Linked DNA regions of Homo sapiens: region 1 is linked to region 2. The links are contacts of gene promoters, found by promoter capture Hi-C in human tissues and cell types (Jung and others, 2019). All regions are on one chromosome and are shown on one strand. Each heading gives the region's core, a stretch centred on a gene start or on the middle of the fragment in contact. The rest is flanking DNA. Distances are from core to core; before and after follow the strand shown. Region 1 has its middle 39 kb from the start of CXCR5. Region 2 holds the start of SLC37A4 (solute carrier family 37 member 4).

What was found. Contacts are between HindIII fragments. The study calls those that stand out against the background at their distance.
Region 1: a fragment that was not itself captured here is called in contact with the fragment with the promoter of SLC37A4 in region 2 in 1 of the 25 tissues and cell types used here (pancreas).

What each region holds. Positions count from the first base shown.
Region 1 is chr11:118,842,513-118,846,953 of GRCh38, reverse strand. No RefSeq gene overlaps it. Among named protein-coding and RNA genes, the nearest start is that of CXCR5, 39 kb to the left of the region's middle. The HindIII fragment of the contact is 5,445 bases long and covers 1-4,441 here.
Region 2 is chr11:119,029,627-119,034,566 of GRCh38, reverse strand. It overlaps SLC37A4 (solute carrier family 37 member 4), which reads left to right and starts at 3,690. Exons shown (of 10, transcript NM_001467.6): 1 at 3,690-3,718. RefSeq lists a silencer at 4,076-4,235. The HindIII fragment of the contact is 21,386 bases long and covers 1-4,940 here.

The sequences.
Region 1 (4,441 bases), core at 1,364-3,863, 190 kb after region 2:
ATATTCTTATAGAGATGAGGGTGTCACTATGTTGCTGGTATTAAACTCCTGGCCTCAAGTGTTCCTCCTGCTTTGGCCTCCCAAAGTGCTGGGATTCCAGGTGTGTGCCTGGCTGCTTTGCATTCTTTAATGAGATGGCCAGTCTCATAAAAGCTATGGCCACAAGAGACAGGAGAGGCTCAGGAAAACAGAGTTTATTGTACTCTTGGATCCTAGGGACAGGAAGCATGCAGGGCCCCAAGGAAAAGACACAGGGTGGTCAAAGGGCAGAAGACAGAAGTGTGGGGAAGGTTTAGGCTACTGCTCTTTGGGGTGGGGGGTTTTGAAGGAAAGGCAAGGTAGGGTGGGGTTGAACCTTTAGTATTGACTAGTTTGAATAATTTCAGTGGCTTTGGGGTATAGGTTGGTCCCTAATTGACTGGGACCTGGCCCTGGGCGGAGGAATTTTGCCTCTGGGGGTGTGTAGGACAGATAGAGGGGGTGTGGCTCTGGGGCTGGTTCATTTGCATATCAAAGACATGCTTCTGGCTGAGCTCTTTGCTATCTCTAAGAACTGGCTAGCCCAGGGAGGGGCAGTCTCTCCCCAGCCAGAAAGGTTTATTTTATTTTATTTTGTTTTCTCGTAGAGATGGGATCTTGCTATGTTGCTCAGGCTGGTCTCGAACTCCTGGCCTCAAGCAATCCTCTTGCTTCAGCCTCCCAAAGTGTTGGGATCACAAGTGTGAGCCACTGCACCTGGCTGATAAAGGCTTTTTAGGGTTTGCATTCTTATTAATAAATTCATCCAGGCCAGGCGTGGTGGCTCACCCTGTAATCCCAGCACTTTGGGAGGCCAAGGCGAGTGGATCACCTGAGGTCAGGAGTTTGAGAGCAGCCTGGCCAACATGGTGAAACCCCATCTCTATTAAAAATACAAAATTTAGCCGGGCATGGTGGCAGGCGCCTGTAATCCCATCTACTCAGGAGGCTGAGGCAGGAAAATCACTTGAACCCAGGAAGCAGAGGTTACAGTGAGCCAAGATTGTGCCACTGCACTCCAGCCTGGGCAACAGAGAGAAACTCTCTCTCAAAAAATAATAAATAAATACATAAATAAATTTATCCAAATCCAAAATTATATTTCTTCCATCCTGATCCCACTCTTTCAAGATCTATTCCCCTACCTATTCCCTGAGTTTCAGTCAGTATAAATCAGCATTTGAGGATCTTGGTAAAATATAAAAGGAATTGTTTGTACTATTCTTATAACTTTGCTGTAAATATGAAACTATGTCAAAAAAAAAACATGAAGCAATGTATACATTGACAAACTCTCAATATTCTTTTGGTTTGTATGGTATTTCCTCATGAGTCACCCTGGGGCCTGCTATGACTTGAATCTCTGAGCTTACAGATCTAAAAGAGGTGGAAGGGTTAGGTTCCTAGGAGGATCACAGTCCCCTGAAAGGCCACTAGCTCTGGGGAGGTCATCCCAGGTTCTTTAGGTAAGGGAAGATTAACTGCAGATAGAGAAGAAGGTCACTTTTTTTTGGCTAAGGAGGGTTAGCTGAATTTAGGGTTTAAGGCAGGGGTGTCCAATCTTTTGGCTTCCCTGGGGCACATTGAAAGAATTGTCTTGGGCCACACTTAAAATACACTAACAATAGCTGATGAGCTAAAAAAAAAAAAAGAAAAAGAAAAAGAAAGAAAAAGATCACAAAAAACCTCATAATGTTTTTTATTGTTGTTGTTGTGGTTTTTGTTTTTTGTTTTTGTTTTTTCTTTTGAGGCACAGTTTTACTCTTGTTGCCCAGGCTGGAATGCAGTGGTGCTGTCTTGGCTCACTGCAACCTCAGCCTCCCGGGTTCAAGCGATTCTCCTGCCTCAGCCTCCCAAGTAGCTGGGATCACAGGCGACCGCCACCACGCCTGGCTAATTTTTGTATTTTTAGTGGAGAGAGGGTTTCACCATGTTGGCCAGGCTAGTCTCGAACTCCTGACCTTAGGTGATCCACCCGCCTCGGCCTCCCAAAGTGCTGTGATTACAGGTGTGACCCACTGCGCCTGGCCAAAGCTCATAATGAAAGTTTATGGCCGAGTGTGGTGGCTCAAGCCTATAATCCCAGGACTTTGGGAGGTTGAGGCGGGTGATCACCTGAGGTCAGGAGTTCGAGATCAGCCTGGCCAACATGGTGAAACCCCATATCTACTAAAAATACAAAAAAAATAGCTGGGTGTGGTGGTGCGTGCCTGTAATCCCATCTACTCAGGAGGCTGAGGCAGGAAAATCACTTGCACCTAAGAAGCAGAGGTTGCAGTGAGCCAAGATCGTGCCACTGCACTCCAGCCTGGGTGACAGAGGGAGACTCTGTCCAAAAAAAAAAAAAAAAAAAAGAAAGTTTATGAATTTGTGTTGGGCACATTCAAAGCCATCCTGGGCCACATGCAGCCTGCAGGGCCACAGGTTGGTCAAGCTTGGTTTAAGGTCTTTGACCTCATAGGAATCCATCCGTATGTCTGTATCCTAAGACTCAGGGTCTTACTCCTTTCCAATCAATGTCTTATTTTGAACATAAGACACCCTGGTAGGTTATGAATTCACTTTGCGTTGAAATTCAGTCTGCTGCAAGTGGACACTTAGTGTTTGGTGATCAGAAATCTTGACCTTGAGGCTATCAGAGATGAGAGTTTTTTTTAAAGGCAGTCTTCAAGTTTTTTGGTCCATTTTCCAGAACTTGAGATGGAAATTTAAAGCCTTTAGCTCATCATTTTCTTTCTCCAAACTTTCCCCATATGTAGAAGCAACCAACATTCCTCATTACATTCCTATTTCTACTAAAATGTTCTACAGCAGCAAATATTTGGCTACCCAAAGCTTTGCCGTCTATAAGCATGTATCACAAGTGATTACAGGTAGAGTTTAAGAATTTAAGTTTACTGCTGGCAACAATCATGAATGCACTTAAGTTTAATCAGGTCAGAGAACCAGTTTCCAATTCCTATCCTTAATGATCTGTCCCCTGAAACCACGGCCAGTACCAGTAAGTGTATCAGTCAGGGAGGTAGAACCTTCATGAATGATGAGATAAGGAATTTATTATGGGAACTATGCTTTACACAATTGTAGAAGAAGCTGGGGAAAGGAAAGACCAAGAGGTTAGTCAGAGAATCAAAAGAGGAGTCACCAATGTGGGGAGGGAAGTGCATCTGGCCACTGACATGGGGCTGTGATGAGAAGGCTCCTGGAGAGCCATCTGGGCAGCCGCCACCTCTGTGGATCCATCACCAAGTGTCTGGTGGTCACTGGTGGTCAACAGGGTCAGGAATTGGAAAGCATTTCTGGACACTGATCAGAGCAAAGCAAGGACAAGCTAGAGCTCACTAACACTTCTGTCACCACATCTAACCACAATGACATTTAGAGAATAATACTTGTGGCTAGGTGTGGTGGCCCACGCCTGTAATCCCAGCACTTTGGGAGGCTGAGGCGGGTGGATCACGAGGTCAGAAGTTTGAGACCAGCCTGGCCAATTTGGTGAAACCTCATTTTTACTTAAAAAACAAAAATTAGCTGGGTGTTTTGGGGCATGCCTGTTGTCCCAGCTAATCGGGGGGGTTCATTTTTGCCTTTTTTTTTTTTTGAGACAGAGTCTCGCTGTGTCTCCCATGCTGGAGTGCAGTGGCATAGTCTTGGCTCACTGCAACCTCCACCTCCCAGGTTCAAGCGATTCTCCTGCCTCAGCCTCCCGAGTATCTGGGATTACAGGCGCCTGCCACCACACCTGGCTAATTTTTTGTATTTTTAGTAGAGATGGAGTTTCACCGTGTTGGCCAGGCTGGTCTCGAACTCCTGACCTGGTGATCCACTGCCTCAGCCTCCCAAAGTGCTGGGATTATAGGCCTGAGTCACCATGCTGGGATTACAGGCGTGAGCCACCATGCCCAGCCCTTAATGTTATTTTTATGTTTGATAACGGCATTGTGGTTATGTAAGATAATGTCATTCTTAGGAGTTGGGGTTTAAATATTTAGGGGTGAAACTTCAAATGGCTTTGCATTTGTTTATTTGTATTACATATCTAGTGAATACAACAAAATGTTCAATCGTTGAATCTAGGTGGTGGATCTGCAGATGTTTCAACCTTTCAGTTATGTTTGACATTTTTTAATAATAAAGTAACAGGGAAAATAAAAGACTCCTCTCGATTCTTACCTTCTCTGGAAGGCTTTCCTACCCACCTCCTGTTACTGCTTTAAAGTCTGTGCTGTCCATCCTTTTTCTTTCCAAGGTATAGCTCTGTGGCATATATCATACTGTACTTTAATTTCTTGTTTTCTGGTCTCTCTGTAAACTTTGAAGTCCTTAAAGGGCAACATGCTCTCTTTCATCTGTAACTGTCCAGCATTTATTCCTGTACCTGGCACAGGATTGGGTGACTCATTCATCCTCGTTCAGTCAAGAA
Region 2 (4,940 bases), core at 2,441-4,940:
CATCTCAGCTCACTGCAACTTCTGCCTCCCAGGTTCAAGTGATTCTCCTGCCTCAGCCTCCTGATTAGCTGGGATTACAGGTGTACACCACCACACCCGGCTAATTTTTGTATTTTTAGTAGAGACAGGGTTTCACCATGTTGGTCAGGCTGGTCTCGAACTCCTGACCTCATGATCCGCGCGCCTCAGCCTCGCAAAGTGCTGGGATTACGGGAGTAAGCCACCATGCCCGGCCTATCTTCTCATTTCTTAACATTCTTTGGAAATACAGTGAGCAAACTAGCATTTGAGTCCCTACTATCCTGATCATAAAGTGCTTTAAAATGTTTTTCCATTTAATTCCCACTGACTGGGTGCGATGGATCATGCTTGTAATCGCCGCACTTTGGGAGCCTGAGGCAGGTGGATAACCTAAACTCAGGAGTTTGAGACTAGCCTGGCCAACATGGCGAAACCCCCTCTGTACGCCGGGTGCGGTGGCTCACGCTTGTAATCTAGCACTTTGGGAGGCCGAGGCGGGTGGATCACGAGGTCAGGATCGAGACCATCCTGGCTAACACAGTGAAACCCCGTCTCTACTAAAAATACAAAAAATTAGCTGACCGTGGTGGCGGGTGTCTGTAGTCCCAGCTACTCGGGAGGCTGAGGCAGGAGAATGGCATGAACCTGGGAGGCGGAGCTTGCAGTGAGCCCAGATGGTGCCACTGCACTCCAGCCTGGGCGAGAGAGCGAGACTCTGTCTCAAAAAAAAAAAAAAAAAAAAGAAAGAAAAAGAAAAAAAGAAAGAAAGAAACCCTGTCTGTACTAAAAATACAAAAATTAGCCAGGCGTGTTTGCGGGCACCTATAATACCAACTACTCAGGAAGCTGAGGCAGAAGAATCGCTTGAACCCAGGTGGCCTGGTCCTGTAGTCTTAGCTACTTGGGAGGATCGCTCAATGCTCAGGAATTTGAGGTTAGAGTGAGCTAAGATACCATTGCACTCCAGCCTGGGCAACAGAGCAAGCCTGTCTCAAAAACAAACAAACAAACAAACAAACAAACAAAAAAAACAGACCGGGCGCAGTGGCTCACGCCTGTAATCCTAGCACTTTGGGAGACCGAGGTGGGCGGATTACCTGAGGTCAGGAGTTCGAGACCAGCCTGGCCAATAGGGTGAAACCCTGTCTCTACTAAAAATACAAAAATTAGCTGGGCGTGGTGGCACATGCTTGTAATCCCAGCTACTCAGGAGGCTCAGGCAGGAGAATGGCTTGAGCCCAGGAGGCAGAGGTTGCAGTGAGCCGAGATCCTGCCACTGCACTTCAGCCTGGCCGACAGAGCAAGACTCTGTCTCAAAAACAAACAAACAAACAAATAAACACCATCGACCAGGCACAGTGGCTCATGCCTGTAATTCCAGGATATTGGAAGACCAAGGCAGGTGGATCCCTTGAGCTCAGGATTTCGAGGCCAGCCTGGCCAATATGGTGAAACTCTTGTCTCTACAAAAAATAGAAAAATTAACCGGGTTGGCTGGGTGCAGTTGTTCATGCCTGTAATCCCAGCACTTTGGGAGGCCAAGGGGGGCAGATCACCTGAAGTCAGGAGTTTGAGACCAGCCTGACCAACATGGAGAAACCCTACCCCTACTAAAATTACAAAATTAGCTGGGCATGGTGGGGCATGCCTGTAATCCCAGCTACTCGGGAGGCTGAGGCAGGAGAATCGCTTGAACCCCAGAGAAGGAGGTTGCAGTGAGCTGAGATCACTCCACTTCCAAAACAAAACGATAGGGCTGTTAATTTAGGTGGTGGTTACACGGGTATTAACATGTGTAAAAAATCACTGAGTTGTACATGTAAGATTCCTGCACTTTTTGTATTTTATTATGTGTATGTTAAATCTTAAAAATAAAAGCGGAGAAAAACCTGATGGCTTCCTACTCCTCTATTAGGTAAAGTAAGAATCTGCTCTGGTTTGGTTTCGGAGGAACTGTTTCCTGGTCCTTGGATCTACCTGGCTGAAAGCACAGTGCCTGGTACAAACTAGGCTCCTCCCCGATTTTGAATTAACGAAGTTCAGTGACATCGTCATCCTATTTTTTTTTTTTTTTTTTTGAGACAGGCTCTCGCTCTGTCACCCAGGCTGGAGTGCAGTGGCACGATCTCGGCTCACTGCAACCTCTGCTTCCCAGGTCCAAGAAATTCTCCTGCCTCAGCCTCCCCAGTAACTGGGATTACAGGCGTGTGCCACCAAGCCTGGCTAATTTTGGTATTTTTAGTAGAGACAGGGTTTCACCATGTTGGCCAGGCTGGTCTCGAACTCCTGACTTCAAGTGATCTGCCCGCCTTGGCCTCCCAATGTGCTGGGATTACAAGCATGAGCCATCGCGTCCGGCCTGTCATCCTATTTTATCTCATCTCCTCCTCCTCCCTTCCCTGACCATCTTCTCTGGAGTAAAAGATCTTTGCTCTCAATTTTGGAACACTTACAATTCCTTCAGCCACTCTTGTTAGGAAGATATAAGGGAAGAGAGCGAGAGACAGGAGGCAACTCAACGGCCAAACAGGTTTATTCACAGGAATAAGCCTGCAAGGAGTTCCAGTCAGGAGTCTGGCTGAGACCCTGATCGCTTACAAGCTGAGGCTTTTATAATATCGTTTCTATTGGGGAGAGGTCGGGAAGTGCTGGCTGATTGGGACTGTTGGGGACTTTGTTAGGCTATGTTACCTTCTGTTGAAGCTATGGGCAGGGTTAACATTTGCTCTGTTTCTGAGAACACAGTCATCATTGTTGTAAAATAGCATCACTACTGTTACTCCTCACAACTCTTAACTGGGATCAGTGAAAACCATTGTTGTTGAGAACTCTTATAGAATTTCTGAGCTCTTATCTAAATCATCTGTTGAGTCTTCACAATGATCTACCAGGCTGGTAGGAAACGGGAGCTCATAGAGATTAACCAAGGTCATACAGTTAGAATGCTGTGGGTCTAGGACTAGAATTTGATATTTACTCCAGGCCCCGTCTCTGTCCCCAACAATCTAACCACAAGTTAAAATTCCAAATTGTGGGCTGGGCGCGGTGGCTCACGCCTGTAATCCCAGCACTTTGGGAGGCCGAGGTGAGCGGATCACGAGGTCAGGAGATCGAGACCATCCTGGCAAACACGGTGAAACCCCGTCTCTACTAAAAATACAAAAAATTACCCGGGCGTGGTGGTGGGCGCCCGTAGTCCCAGCTACTCGGGAGGCTGAGGCAGGAGAATGGTGTGAACCCGGGAGGAGGAGCTTGCAGTGAGCCGAAATCGCGCCACTGCACTCCAGCCTGGGCGACTGAGCGAGACTGTTTCAAAAAAAAAAAAAAAGAAAAAAAGAAAATACTGTGTGTTCCTACAACACCTTTCCCAGACTGTGAGCAACTTGGGAACAATGATTATCACCTTAGTGTTCGGTGTGTTTTGTAGAGGAGGGCACTCACTAAAAACTGGTTTGTTGAATGCAACCACTTAAGAATTGGACATGCCGTGCCCAGCCCCTAAGGGGCGCTATGCTCGTTCGTCCAAGGAGCAGCGTGACCAGCGGGAGGGAGTAAGTCGACGTCCCCGGCATGTGGGGCGGGGAACTCCACTGGCCGGCAAGCGAAGCAGCAGGCGAAGACCACGCCCCCGCCGGCCGCGCTTGCGCAGCCTTCGCTAGCCCCGCCCCGTCCTATTCGGGCTCCCGCCTCTGTTCAGGTAGGAGGCGGTATGCGGGGGAGGGGAGTCACCTGAGGGCGGGGATCTCAGGTCTTGGGGAGCCATTGTTGGCGAACCCCAACTTCCGATACGACCCGGAGCTGTTCCTGCAGTTCCAGAGACAATTCATGGGTCTTGGGGCCACCGAGGCGCTGTCCCTGACCACCAGCACGAGACCCCTTTCTATCGCGCCAGTCCTGTGGTCTCCGCACCTCTCCAGCTCCTGCACCCCCGGCCCCCGTGGTTCCCAGCCGCACAGTAGCGTGTCCTGGGTAGCGTGAGGACCCACGGGGCTGGGCAGGTGCCACGAGCCCGCCGCCTCTTCGCCGCCCGCCGCCTCTCCTCCTCTCCCGCCCGCCGCCTGGCCCTCCCCTACCAGGCTGAGCCTCTGGGTGCCAGAAGCGCGGGGCCTCCGGGAGAATACGTGCGGTCGCCCGCTCCGCGTGCGCCTACGCCTTCTGCTCCAGTTGCTTTCCCAATTGAGCGGAAAAGCCGGGGCATGTTGCCGGGGCCCTGGGCGGGACGGTTGTGCCCTGCAGCCCGAAGCCCGCCGGGGCACCTTCCCGCCCACGAGCTGCCCAGTCCCTCTGCTTGCGGCCCCTGCCAACGTCCCACAGGTTGGAAACCAGACCCTGCAGCCCCCAGCTAGCCCGAAGGAAGCCCAGACTGACGTCGCAGGGTAATGGGGACCCAGAGGTAGCTCTGTGGGGCCCCATCAGGACCTCAGCCCTTAGCGGGGCTTTCTGTGTGACACCGTGGGACCTGAACTGGGGAGGTCCCCCTTGCACAGAATTACAAGGGGCAACTGTAGGAAACAATTAAATCTATTATGTGCTAAGTATTGAGAGTTCCACGGATTGAGGCCCTCTCTAGAAGGCTTAGAAGTGGGGTAGCCGGGGTATGTGTCTGACTTTGTGTTTTGGTGCGGTGGTGGTGAGTGGGTGTAGAAACTAATAGTGCCAAGTGCAGTGCCTGTCAACTAGTAAGTTAATAAACCTTCCGTGAATGAATGAGAAGGTTCTGTGACTGAGGGAGCAGGGCTAGAGAGGGCATCTCTGCTCATCCCACCCCTGCCTCCCCTGGGCTCAGGCAGACAAAAGTAATTAGGTTGAACCTTTAATCAAAGCTGGTTTCACAGGCAAGCAGACATGATAGAGGAGGTAAAGGCAGAAATCCTGGGGACACAGGGTGCTGGCCTGGCTCACAGGCATGCCTCCTTCCG